Linked DNA regions of Homo sapiens: region 2 is linked to region 1. The links are contacts of gene promoters, found by promoter capture Hi-C in human tissues and cell types (Jung and others, 2019). All regions are on one chromosome and are shown on one strand. The core of a region is centred on a gene start or on the middle of the fragment in contact, and the rest is flanking DNA. Distances in the headings are between cores, read along the strand shown.

Evidence for each region. Contacts are between HindIII fragments. The study calls those that stand out against the background at their distance.
Region 2: a fragment that was not itself captured here is called in contact with the fragment with the promoter of GRIK1 in region 1 in 2 of the 25 tissues and cell types used here (H1 embryonic stem cells and dorsolateral prefrontal cortex).

The regions. Positions count from the first base shown.
Region 1 is chr21:29,935,845-29,943,033 of GRCh38, reverse strand. GRIK1 (glutamate ionotropic receptor kainate type subunit 1) reads left to right here and starts at 3,038. Exons shown (of 18, transcript NM_001330994.2): 1 at 3,038-3,651. The coding sequence starts at 3,534. RefSeq lists an enhancer at 3,251-3,752. The HindIII fragment of the contact is 7,699 bases long and covers 1,544-7,189 here.
Region 2 is chr21:29,483,479-29,490,667 of GRCh38, reverse strand. No RefSeq gene overlaps it. Among named protein-coding and RNA genes, the nearest start is that of BACH1-IT3, 9.0 kb to the left of the region's middle. The HindIII fragment of the contact is 6,526 bases long and covers 1,246-7,189 here.

The DNA.
Region 1 (7,189 bases), core at 1,789-4,288:
GTACATGAGCAGTGGAGAGAAGCATTTTAACAAGGAAATAAATTTCAGTTTTAAGCTTTACAGAATTTTACAGATGATACAGAAACATAACTGCAGTGTGCCATTTAGTTTTCGAGAAACTTCCTTTAGGAAATCTCTCTAATATCTCTAATTATCAAAATGAACTGTTTCCTCATAAACCAGAGACAATACAGGTAAAAAGTAGCAAAACTCCTGAAATAGTATCAGAACAATTATGATTACCATATAATTAATTGGACCAGTGTTGTTGACTTCTTGCCCAAAAAACAAAATATTTCAGTCTCTGCAATCTGGGGCAGATTATTACTAGAAATATATGCATGGATTCCTTTAACCAGAAAAGTAATGACCACAAATAAACTAAAATATGCTGAGTAACAAGGACCTTGGGAAATTCTTCACATGCAGTAGCTCATATAATCCTCCAATGGCCCTGTAGTGTTATTATTATCCTCATTTTACAGATGAAGATATCAAGTCATAGAAAGTTTATTAGTTAGTATAGAGAAGCTTATGCTGCAGTAACAAATATCTCAAAATTGTAGTGGATTAAAACATAATGTTGAGCTGGGACTGATTTGTTAGCAGTGTGTTGCTGTTCTAGAAACATTCAGAGCAACTCCCTTACAAAAAATTACTCAGGGATTGAGGCTGCTTTCATCTTAACCTCTAGAACTTGTGGCTTTCAGAGTTACTCTGGCAGGGAAAGAGAGTCCTGGAAGTCATGCAGGATCTTTTTTCACTGTCTTCCTTTTCTCCTGGCAGCAGTGCACTTCCACTCATATTTTATTGGCCAAAAATGGTCACATGATTCCAACTAATTGAAAAGGTAGATTCCAACTAATTGAAAAGGTACAGGCTTTCATGAGCCAGAGAAAGGGAAAACTAGATATACGTAAGCACCAGCAATGGACTACAGGCAGACATAAAAATTTAACCAAAGCTAAAAACATAGACTTGGTAAAACCAGAATTTAAACCCAGTTTGTTCAAAAGCTGACTTAATTCTAGACCTTGGGTCTTCAAACTTTAGCCACTCACTATCTGCTATGTATTGGTCTTTGATGTACCCAGAGAAAATAGATGACTAAAAATGCTTACCACAGACCTTTAGGTTTAAAAATAAACCCTCTAACAGATTTACATTCATTCTCACTTTAAGAAATACTTACTAATCCCTTTTAAACCACTGATTCTTTGAGTTTTGAAGCATCACTTCCTGAAGAACCCCTTTCCAAACTCTTAAATGGGATTACACTACTTTTTTTCTTTACTTCCATAACACCATTTTGTAAAGCTCATCATACTTTAATGCCAATGAGTTCCAGAGTGGCAGCAATCATATCCCTCTGTGTCTCCAGAGATTGGCACAATACCTCACACAACGTGGGCTCTCAAAAAATATGCATAAATAAATGAATAGTTTGACTTTGCCTCTTTTCTGAAGCAGGTCATGCTACTGTTTTTCTTAATTTTTATTTGCACAGGAAGGGTCTCGCTATGTTTCCAAGGCTGGCCTCGAACTCCTGGTTTTAGGTCATCTTCCCTCCTCAACATCACCAAAGTGCTCCAATGTAAGCCAGCACACCCAGCCTTGCCGCTGTTTGATATTCTCTGGTCTTAAAAATGCTCCCCGAATGAGACAAAATTTACTCTTCTACAATTTCCCTCTGACAATCTTATTTTTCTTAGCTCTTCTCACATATCTAACACTGAATAAGGCTACTTTCTTTTAACACAAGAATTCTTCAAATGTCTGAAGATAACCAGCATGTGCTCCTAATTCCTCTTGGTTTCCTCAATCTTTCCACGCAAAAATGCATTCCTAAATCCCTATCAGTCCCTCTTCTTATCTGCAGACATGTTCTGCTTTGTTAACTCTCATCCCAAAGTGTCCAGAACCAAGCCTACTACTTGAGATATGAACTGACTAGCTTTCCACAGTGGAGTTCTAACCTCCCTTGGAGAATGAACATGCATTTTCCCCACCATAGGGTTTTTAGTGAAAAGTATAGTGTCTGACACCACAAACAAAATACTCAGTAGGTATTTGTTGAATAATGAATGAATTAATTAATTAATACACGAATGGACTTTAAGATATATTAGATTCCTTTTGCAATTGTTTCCCACTCTAGGCTCATATAACAACTGTGGACATACTTTTCATATGGATTTGGTCAGTTCTTCAAAATCTATTTACCAGTTAAAAAAAAGAGATGTTAATATAGACCTAGCAAACATATATATAGAACATTCCCCACAAAACTCGAAGGAAATTAATCCAACATAATCAAATGCTGATTTCCCTAGGGAAGTGTCCTTGTCCTTCTACAGAGAAACAGTCTCCAAACCTACATTGCTAAAATAGCCTATCTTTCAGTATTCAGACCTGACAGTTAAAAGAAATGAAGAAAAGTAGCGGCGCTGGAGGCTGCTTCTATCTCAGTGGCATGTGTAAATGGAAGCAATTTGCAAGAGATTATCTTGGGTCCAAATAGGAATGAAGCCACTATAATCTTGGAGTACTGAAGCTTTCTCATTCCTCTCCCCCTTCCCCTGTTCATCATCCTCGTCAGAGTCAAAACAGGAGCCCCGGTATTTTCCAAAATATTGGAGGTGATTTTCCATTAAATGATGGGACGAGTCATAGCTGGCTGTCTATAAGACCCCCTAACAGGTGCACACGGACATTACCAAGAAGGCTTCCTTGCCACTCACAGCGGACAGCAGAGGCTTTCTCTGCTCGGACCAATAGTTTAGATTTGATCTGTCTTGAGAATGCAACACTCGATCGACTTCCCAGCAGCAGAGCGCAAAGTTGAGGGAGAGAAAAAAGAGCGTGTGTGTGTGTGTGTGTGTCTGTGTGTGTGTCTGTGTGTCTGTGTGTGTGTGTGCGCGCGCGCGCGCGAGTATCTTGATCAGTGGGGTTGGGGCGGGCAGTAAATAAAGGGTGGGGCCAGCGAGGGGAGGAGGAAAGCAAAGATTCAGAGAAGCCGGAACGTGGCTCCGCTCCCAGTTAACCTGCTGGAGCTCATCAGGCTTGCTCAGAGCCCCTGCACCAACTCACCCTGTACCCTCTCTCCTTCTTCGTTAGTCTTCTTTCCCCCTTTTCCCTCCTCTGTCTGTGCCTATCCCCCGACTTTTGCATCTGACCAAAGGACGAATGAGGGAGACGTTCCTGCAGATCGGGGCAGCAACTTTCCTCAGCTGGTCTCTGGGCTCCGGGAGCCAGAGAGCGCTGATCCTCCGCGGTCTGCGGCCCATGGAAGAGGAGGAGGAGGAGCCGTGATGGGCTAGCGACAGCACTGAGGAGCCCCGAGAGAGCTCAGCCTTGCCAGCCAGCTCCGCGGTCCCACGCGGGTTCCCTCGAGCTCGCTCCGTGGGGAGCGCGCAGCGTGCTTGGAACCGGAGCATCCAGAGAGGATGAGGCGGGGACCCGGCCCAAGTTGGGTGCATCTCTCGGGCGTCCGGCAGCGGCTGTATCTCGGCATGAATTAAGAAGCTAGGAAGATGGAGCACGGCACACTCCTCGCCCAGCCCGGGCTCTGGACCAGGGACACCAGCTGGGCACTCCTCTATTTCCTCTGCTATATCCTCCCTCAGACCGCCCCGCAAGTACTCAGGATCGGTGAGTGAGCCCCAGGCTGCCTGCTCGGGAGACGTGGTCGGTCGCCGCACCAACGCGGGTGTAGCGGGTCCCGGGCGAGGCAGCGCGCGGCGGCGCAGGAGCCGGAGCTGGGGAAGGTGGAGGTCAGTGCTCATGGGAGGCTACACAAAAAAGGGGGAGCCGCGTCACTGCTTCCCTCCTGGAGGGTGCCGGCCTTCCCCGGGAGGTACAGTTGGCGGGTTTTTCAATCTGGGCTCCAGGAACGCGGGCTAGAGTGCGGGGATCCAGGTTCGCAGGGACCGGCACCCCTACTCTGGGCAAGGGATCGCGAGCCGCTGCAGCCACTTGAGTTGGGCGCAGAAATGAGCTCTCCCAGCCTCCTGGGTGGGCGTCTGGCAGTCCAGATCCGCAGTCCCGGTGCCTGGCAACCTGGGCTCTGGGCACTGGCAAGTATGCACGAATCTCAAGAATACAATACAGGGACCACTAGGGATGTGGGAATATCCTAGAGCCTGTTACCCCAGAGCCTCCAAGTTTTTATGCCTAAGTTGGATTCTTCCACATGGAGTCTGCCAACTCTGACGGGTTCCACTAGATTGGGGCAGAGTTCAGATCTGACTTCGAGCTGAAGATTCGAAGAGTGAGAAGGACGGTCAGTTAGCAACATCAGCAGACACTTAAGTTTCCCACTTGCTCCCTAATTTGCCCGCTTGCCTGCCACTGAGCAAGATCCAGTTCCCAGTCCAGGTAGCTTCCTAGGAGATTCAGGGCTCTGATCTCGAATGAGATAAAAAAGACACCGGAAAGCTGAATGTGGGCAGCCCAAAGATGACAAAACGCAAGGACAGTGGAAGGGGCGTGGACTGACAGCCATAAGTGTATAGCACCCACCACCAAGGTTTGGTCTGTGGCTGCATAGGGCAATTTCTGAACTTTGAGGGTTGACACAGCTCTTCGCCTTTTAAACTAAACCCAGTTATTGTTCGCTGAATCTCATTTGCCCTCCTCCTTTCCCAACCCATCGGGCTTCTTAGAGTCACGGTCACAGAGGGAGCCACAGGAGAAGCTGTGACATCACATGGGTCTCTTAGTTTCTCCCATCTTCCACTTTCAACCGCAAGAGTGAAGCCCTGATCTCTGAGGACTTCTAACTCCCCCTTTCCAGGAACTAACAGAATATGCCAGGAGCAGTGCCAGACACTGGCATAGTGACGCTTCCTGAGCAGTTGAAATTGCTCAGTTACTATACTAGCTCTGACCTACAATTAGTCAGCCCCTTTACAAAAATTCAGAACATACTAGGTTTTATTTTTTAATCACTGAACATGCCCACTAAAAGAAAAATAGAAATGTGCTACTTTGAGCTGCAGATATCAAATACTAACTTTTACTACACACATGTTTTTTCTAGACTATGGGTAATTTTAATGTGCATTGTATTGGATAGAGTCTTTTCTAAAATAGTTTCAAAGTATTTATTTTTTTAAAAAAAAACTTACTACTATACATAACTGAAATATCCTTTATCTGAGATAAGTTCTAGGTTTAACATCCTGGGTTTTTGGGAATGCAATCAACTCTACTCACCCTGGTCAAAAAAAAAAAATATTCTGAACAATACAAAGTAACTAATGAGCGTGTGTGTTATAATTTCCAATACTTATTAACTTAATTGGGGTTTTGCTTGTGTCTTTTACCTTTTGAAAGAGACAAATCTAGGGATGCTAGAAATGGCTGTGCTAGCCAATGTTCCTCATCCCTGTATAACAAATATAAGGTAGCATTTTCCTTTCCTATATCCCCCACATCTAAAGGAACTCAGGAGGAGAAGGGAAAAGGATGCTTTAAGACATATTTGTTCACAGATCTCAGTATTTTTCTAAGCTCCAAGCAATCACAATCATCTACGTAAAAGTAGTTTTCAAGGTGAAAACAAACAACATGATTCACTGACCTTACAAATATATGCAACAAGATAATGAGGTTTTCTTTTTTCTAAATGGGAGCCAAAATGCATAAAATAAAATGGCATGGCATGGCCTGGTGTTGTTTATGTGCAGTACAAATGTGTTACTCCTTCTGGCCTGGAGTGTCCTGTGGCTGACATGAGCACTGTTGCCCCGTATGCACCTAAGGACCAATGCACGCTTTTAAATGAGCAGTTTAGCACACTGTGGAAACCAGCTTTACCTCAGAGGAAACCTGTTTCTCTACAGTGACTTTCTTGTGTCAGTCAAGTGCAATATTGAATACAAAAAATTAACAAAAAGGGGTTGGGGACTAAGCCAAAGTTTATGTGTGTGTGTATGAGTGTGTGTAAGGAAAAAGAAAGGGGAGTTGTATTCTTTATTATATCCTGTCCCATTCTTCTTTCCAACAAACCATCACCCATCCAAGCAACCGACCGATCAACTAAACAATCAACCAACCAATAAAAAGGGTCTCTAGATTATTAACTGGCATGTTTTTTAGTGACTTAAAATATTCAAAGTAAAGTATAGCAAAATCGCTAGGCACTTAGTACTGGGTCCTCATATAGAGAAGGCACTCAAATGCTTGAATGAATTAATTACTGGTCTACTTTTCTTGTCAAAGTGTCTGCTTAAGCTTCAGCTTTGGAGAAAAGGATAAAAGCTAAGATAAAATTCATGCATACTGAATATTTGAGAGGGTATTGAGTTCACATAGACACGTGATTTGAGCATACACTGTGAATGTCTGTTGGAAAGTTTATAATCTTATGCAACAGTTAAGAGACAGAGAAGGTCGGTAGGATAGTGGTGCCCTTAACATTATTACTGCACTCAAGAAGTTTCCCAGCAGCTTGCATAGAAGAGAAATATAGCTGGTTGCTGGGAATTGTGTGGAGCTGCTGGAGTCATTCCTGCCTCTCTGTATACACCAGTGTATATCAACAACCAGTTAGTTGACATATGTAATTAGTTGGTCTGTGAGCTTCACAATCACAAATATCTTCCTTAATTGGGTGGCTGACTTATAACTAATGGTTAGAACAGGATCTAGGTAAACTTAGTAGACGTGGCCCACCACCATTAATTAAAAAAATATTCCAAGTGCATATGCAATTTTAGGACAGATGTGTAATATTTATAATAAGGATTGCAGAAAGACAGATAATATATTTGTGTGCATCATCTCAACACATACAATTATAGAGGTCATGGTGAAAATAGGATTAAGAATTGAGCAGTGGGCAGCCAGGCTTTCCGAAGCATGTTTTGGTGTCAGAAAGCATAGGTTTGATTCCCACGTCCGTGATTTACTAGATACATCAATGAGTGAGTGAGGGTTATTTAGTCTTACCAGGCCATTGCTGTTGCATCTGATAAATTGAATTAAAACTATTGCAAACCTCACAGTGTCATTGGTAAGAGCTCAATATGAAAGGGCTTTGAGTAATATCTGGATACATTTGTTTTATTATTATTATTGTTATGTTGTTTTTACTACTTTTTTTATTATTTACATTTTCTTCCTAAACAGGGTCTTAACAGTTGATTGGTGTATCTTTATAAGACCTTTAATATCTTTAAGCCTA
Region 2 (7,189 bases), core at 3,259-5,758, 450 kb after region 1:
TGCCCTAAGATGAGTTATCATGGGAATCTTCTCCTCTTTCTTTCCTGTCTCAATCATGGGTTTGAATTCAAATATCAAAATCCTAGTATTTCTGTATAACATTTTTATTGTGCAGTCAAGAGGGCCCCACTCCATATAGACATAGAGCTTTGTGGGGCAGTATTGGGTTCCTAATGTTACTTCAAATGTTCTGTTGCCCCAGGTCACTTCAATTTAGCAGGTATGATTTAATGAGTTTCCACTGGATACAAAGCACAGGGAAGAATTCTGTAAATGATATGAAGATGTATAAAGATTGAAGGGTAGAGAAAAGCCCCAGAAAGATGTATAAACACTTTGAGCTCTTGAATCAAGCCCTGTCTCTTTGGACTTTCAAAAACTTCTGAACAATGGCAGGAATCATTGCTAAGTTATGAAAACTCTGGGCCATGACCCTAAATCCACAGAAGGTTGGAATTTACCGCCACGAAAAATGCAATGCGAGCAGAGTGGGGAGGAGACACTGGTGGTTAAAACCCAGAAACACATAGAGCTAAAAGTCATGCTCATAGTCATTGTATGTTCACTGTGTACCAGAAATCATACTAAGTGCTTTATATAAATAATTGCATTCTGATGTTACAAATAGCCCTGTGAGTATGTATTATTGTTTTTATCCCACTTTGTAGATGAGGAAATTTTAAAGTTTAGATGTTAAATAAATTATCCAAAGTCACAAAAATCAGTAAGTGGTAGAGCCTGGAATTGAACCCAGAGCCTAGATTCTAAGCCACTACATGCAATGAAGACTGTCTTCCTGGTCTACCTCTTTCTCTCCAGCAACCTCACTCCCAGCCCTACCCCAGACCCCTAGCCAGTTACAGTAGACACAGTGCCTATGGCCCACAGAACATTAGGAATCCACAAAAATATTTTAATTTTATTTAAGTCAGAAGAAAAATATTAATAACAATAAATATATGATAATAAATCCAGCCTGAATTGTGTTCATCTTTATATCAACATAATCATAAAATATAATATTAGCTTAGTTATTTTTATGAAAAAAGGGCGAAAGTGCCCACTCGAGGCCCAGAAAAGTCAGAATTTGGCAGATACCATCTTCTTGACAGAGGAATAGAAACTTCACGCTCTCCCTTTCTAAGGCCCTTCACTGGAGCTAATTTTTCCTCTTCAATATAATAAAATAACAATAACCAACACTTCTATAGCTTCTACAATGTGCCAGGAATGTATATATGAGCTTTATATGCATTCTTCACAAACCCCTGTGAAGAAGCTGCTACTATTGTTAGCAGCAGAAAGCATCTGAGTTGCACGGTACCAAAGCAGGTTAGCAGTGGCAGATCCACGAGGGCCTGAAGCAACCTGTTGCCTCCTCAGAAGAAAGAATTTGAATGAGGGGCAGAAGGCAGAAGGAGAGATAGAGGTAAGTTTAGAGCAGGGGAGAAAGTTTATTAAAAAGTTTGGATCAGGAACAAAAGAAAGTAAAGTACACTTGGAAGAGGGCCAAGCAGGCAACTTGAGAGATCAAATGCCCTGTTTAACCTTTGACATGGGGTTTTATAAGTTGAAATACTTGCGGGGTCTTGCATCTCTTCTCCCCTGATTCATCCCCTGGGGTGGGCTGTCTGCATGCGCGGTAGCCTGCTAGCACTTGGGAGTGACCGCAAGTGTGGTGTTTACTGGAGTTGTACACATGCTTACTTGAGGAGTTCTTCTTCCCTTACCAGCTGAATGTTCTAGAAGGAACATTCTAGGAATATTCTGCCTCTTAATGTGCATGCTTGAACCCACTTGCCCAGCTCATGAGATCTTACTGGGAAGCTGCTGATCACCAGTTTCAGGCGTTTCTATCTATCGGGAGACGGCCTTTCTTGGTGCCAGCTGTGACCAATTACTATTTTACAGAGACAGTTAACAACCACCTGACCATACCTGATAGTCACCTGACATTCCTGATGGGCACAGAGGAGCCCTCTCCTGCCTTGCTCATGCCTGACTAGCTAGCTAGCTACTGTAATATTATTAGCTCCATGTTATTTGTATTATTATTATTATTGGCTCCATTTTAGCAAGAGTATTTAATATTTCTTTGAATCACATCCCACCCACGTTAAAATACCAAGAGTCCCTTCAAGATGTGTCCCTGGTCCAATCCTCCAGAATGGCTTCCGTCATGCAGGCATGCAATCATTCACATATTCATTCCCTTAACATGCCTATCTTAAGAAAGGTGCTCTATAAGCCTCTGTAAATATGAGAAGGGAAAATTAAAGTGTCTCTGTCTACAACTTGCTAATATTCTCACCCTAAGATTGTGATTTAAAATACATCTCCTGTAGATTCAGCCATGTTATCTGTGCAGTATCTGGGACTAGGTTTTGGTTTGCTAGACTTTGGCTGGTGGTCATTAGGTGTTTGTGTGTTTGTCAGGAGAAGTGTGAGATTATGGTGCAGAAATTAACTTCACTTCTGCCAGTGCATAGAGTACAAACAGCCTTCTTCCAGAAGTATCTATGCTATTTAATAGAGTTAATAGGAGCGCACCCCAGAGGAATCATTTAAACACAACTCACTTTGTTAAACTTTTTAAATGGAACTGATATCAGCAATAATGTAAAGCATTATTTCAGCCTTTTGCACGACATAAAAACCACCTCGTCTTTTTTCACAAAATCGTTCCCTCTGTCACAAACAGCATTCAAGATTAGATCAGTTTGACTGTCAACTATTTTTACTTTTCAAGCACGGATCAACGGCACACTCTGCCTGATATCATTAAGATAATCTGAGGATAACTAGCCATACGTCGACAAAGGGAGAGATTCATTATTGTGATTCAATAAACCAAGCTGATTATTATAATTCCAACCACTTCTCCCCCACCTCACAGCTCCCTGTTACTAAAACATTCTCTCCCAGAAATAAATACATTGCCATACATCTCATTTCTTTTTTTGACTTTTTTTAAGTTTTGCCTTTGAAACCTCAACACTCTTCTTTGGGTAAATTAAGTAGTTCAATGAGTAGGTCCCTCATTATTACTTTAAATAATCAAGAGTTCCAACCTGATTTCTACAATCATTTTTATTTTGTCTCTAGTTAAATACTACTTGAATGAATGAGAGTGGTCTCTTTTTCCATAACAATGCAATTTTAAATGTTTCAATATTATTTGCAGGAAACTTTTACCTTCCCAGCTGACTGATTATCATATTTAACAAAGCCTTGCTTGTGTGAGAGTGAACAGCCCAGCAATTGCCATCATTTGCATGCACACTAAAACTAGCACTGGGAATGTGACCTTCATTTAGGCATTGAATAATGTTCTCGAAGCTTTATCCACCCTGCCTGCTAATCACCACAGCTACAACACAGTCCCGTGTTGGGCAACTGAATTGTTTTTGCAAACAAAAAGTAAATTGTCTATTAGCGCGTCCACACATTTTCTTGTCTCAGAGAACTAACATAAGCAAAGGTCATTGAAGGAAACAGACAGGGTTCCAGTTAAGTGTTATTGGTGGGTAGGGGGATAGAGTCCAGTGATAAAGAAAACTATTAACCTTGTTTTTTTCCTCTTTGTTTGTGCCTTTGTTTGGGAAATAAGGTCTATAATAAGAGATTAAAACTCCCCACCAAAAGCAAAGTAAGGGCCTACTAAATCGATTTTTATATGTTAGAAAAAAAAGGTTGATCTACATTGCTGATATGGAAAAAAATGAAGACACCCAGTTATAACGCATAAATCTGGAGCTATTATCATGAGTCCGGATGGAGTATTTCAGACAGTCTAAGGAGCTCCTAAAAGGCACAGGGAAGAGATGAAATTTCTTATAATTGAAATAAATCCTTTTGCATGATTACAAGGCAGATCTTAGGCTACTCACAAGAAATGAACCTTAAAAGGGAGGGGTTGGTAAGGGTGAGGAGATTCTAGGCCATTGAACTCAAAAAGCATGTGTCCTGTAGCAGCTGCCATTAAATAAATATTCTAGATCTACAACAGTTCTATCCCTGGTGACTATTTGCATGGTAAATGGCTAAAAGCACAGTTTTAGAATCTCTTATTTATGTAGATTAGAAGGGAAAGAATAATTCATAGTTCTTTCCTGCCCAGAGGTTTACACACTCCACTCCAAAAAGGAAAATAATATGTTGTCAGCAAATATACAACAAGGAACCACTTAAAATTCTGGTTTCATTAATCATCATATGCATTTGCTTTTCTATCCCAGTTCTTTGCAAACTTCAGTGCATACACACACATTAAAAAGATATATAAATATGTTTGTGTAGTTATTTATATAGAATATATATGTTTAGCCTGTGTGTGGCTGGTAGGCTCAACTGATTAAAGTCCTGTTCTAATGAGGCTAGGTCCGAATTTCTCTGGCTCTGCTTTCTGGCCAAGAATAGCAATCTAATTTCTGATTAGACAAGTTCTAAAGGCACACAGTGAGTCCCAAGGTGAAGCAGGCAAGAAACTGTTGGAAGAACAAGCCTTCCGCATGATGGAAAGAAAAAAGACCAAGTGACAAGACCTGCTGGAGGGAAGCTGGAAAGTCTGGACAGGTAACATTTTCATTTGCCAATATGTCTATTCAGGGCATAAAGTATAACTTAAATAACTAACCTACAGCTTTGGTCACTAAAGAAAAACCAGAAGAAAATTGCATAGACACTATCTTGAGTCATCTCCCTCTGGAATTTTAGAAGGTAGGTTGGTAGGATTTTCAGATTAGAAAGTCCACAGCTCAGGAGAATCAAAGAGGTCCAGGTGGAGAAGAAGAAAGGTGCAGGCTGGACTGTCGCTGGGCTTTACCAGACGAGGTGAGATCATAGGGTCATCATTTGTGCTTCTTCATGGTACGGTCAAGTTTACTAGAGAGGAGCACAAGACGGATCTGGGGAAGAAGTCATAGCCAGGAGCAAAGACTGTCCCTTGTATAAAATTTCTCTAGAACCCTAGAATAGCTACAGGACAAGGTGGGAGTCCAGCAGAAGAAAGGCAAAGAGAAAGTCAGGTATGTTTGGCTGGGCGCGGTGGCTCATGGTTGTAATCACAGCACTTTGGGAGGCCGAGGCAGAGGATCATGAGGTCAGGAGATCGAGACCATCCTGGCTAACACGGTGAAAGCCCGTCTCTACTAAAAATACAAAATATTAGCCGGGCGCGGTGGCGGGCACCTGTAGTCCCAGCTACTTGGAGAGGCTGAGGCAGGAGAATGGGGTGAACCTGGGAGGCGGAGCTTGCAGTGAGCCGAGATTGCGCCACTGCACTCCAGCCTGGGCGACAGAGCGAGACTCCGTCTTAAAAAAAAAAAAAAAAGGCAGCTATGTTTGGTATGACACCACTAACAACATCTCTGTAAATGTGTCAGTGGAAATGAGCCACGCCCTGGAAGTCTCTGGAGATCACAGGTGATATGGTTTGGCTGTGTCCCCACCCCAATCTCACCTGGAATTGTAGCCCCCATAATTTCCACGTGTTGTGGGAGGGACCTGGCAGGAGATAATTGAATCTTGGGAGCAGTTTCCCCCATACTTTTCTTGTGGTAGTGAACAAGCCTCACAAGATCTGATGGTTTGATAAGGGGTTTCCCCTTTCACTTGGCTCTCATTCTCTCTTGTCTGCTGCCATGGAAGACATGCCTTTCGCCTTCCACTGTGATTGTCAGACCTCCCCAGCCACGTGGAACTGTTGAGTCCATTAAACCTCTTTTTCTTTATAGGTTATCCAGTCTCGGGTATGTCTATCAGCAGCGTAAAAACGGACTAATACAACAGGGGACTGCATTATCTTCAGTGGGGTCTTCAAAGATAAAAGGCTATGAAAACCTGAGAGTTGAGTATGGCAAAAGTAGACAAACCAAAGAAGTTTTTCCAAAAGATCCACCAAATCAAGAAGAGCTTGGAGGATTTGGGGTACCCGAAGCCAAAGAAGCAGTCAGTATTCAAAGACCCAGTTGTGACTTAAGATACCATCACTAATTCCAGCAACACTCCACAAAAGTCTACTAATAAAACTGGTCTTCAGTGCTTGTAGATCCCATGGTAATTTCTAGAGACAAAAAATTCTGCCAAGCATCTTGATAGCTAAAAGGAATAGCAATATGTCATTTAGGAACTTGCTACATCCAGAATGGTCTCTTACAGTTGAAGGTCAGCTGCTAAGAGGCATAGATAATAACTGCCTCCTTGTCTTGACCAAGGAACTGGTAACATCAAATTACAAAGGCTCCTGTACAGTCTGAGCGAACACATCGAGGCCCAGAAATTTGCCTTCATGTTTGTTCAGCTTGGGTCTACACATTAGGAAAGTCATTAACAGATTGTTAGCATCTGCTGAGGAGTTCCTCAACGCCTTTCACAAGAGCAACTTCATCCGCAAGCTATACTGAGTCAATGCCAAGGTGGTAGGTTAAGTAAAACTTGAAGAGGTGATAATGATTGGTACAAAACCAGGAACTCATCAGTATGTCATCCCACCAGCCTCAACATGCAGCCACTTGTGAGCCGTGAAGAAAAGAACCAAAGAGGGGTAAGTAGTAGATAGGATTCCAACATTACAGAACAGGGCAGCAGAAGCAGCAGCATTGGAAATCTAACTCCACTTCTGATGTTAGAAGGCCTAGACATAAAATATGGGGAGTTGTTCTTCCATAATAAAAGAAAAATCCAAATAATTGAATAAGGCAACTAAGTAAAGCAATTAAATGTGATGCTTCAGGATAGACATCAAGGCCATTAATAGCAATTAATGTCTTTTGTTTGTAGTATTATGCAAGGGGCATTGTAATTTCCACATAGTAAAATGATCTATTTTTCACTTCATTAATCAGAACACATGATCATTGTGATCAAAAAAAGTGGCCTCATTCTACTTCCCGACCAAGATTTAACTGCAAGCGCTTACAGTGAGGTCTCATTTTCTCAAGACTTTATCGCAGTTAAAAGACATACTACAGCCCATTAGTCGGTAGGCTATGGATTATTATAATAAATACTTAAAACCACTTATCAAAATAAAGAGCCAAAGCACACTCTGCCATGCAGTGGGCCCCGTTTTTCAATCAGAGTCTCTCACTTGCTAATTGGAAGTACTCAGAACTCCAAATGACTTGTCTTATCGTTGGTGAGAATTAAAGAGGTTTTATACACTGGAGATATTTTAGCACTTTTCCCA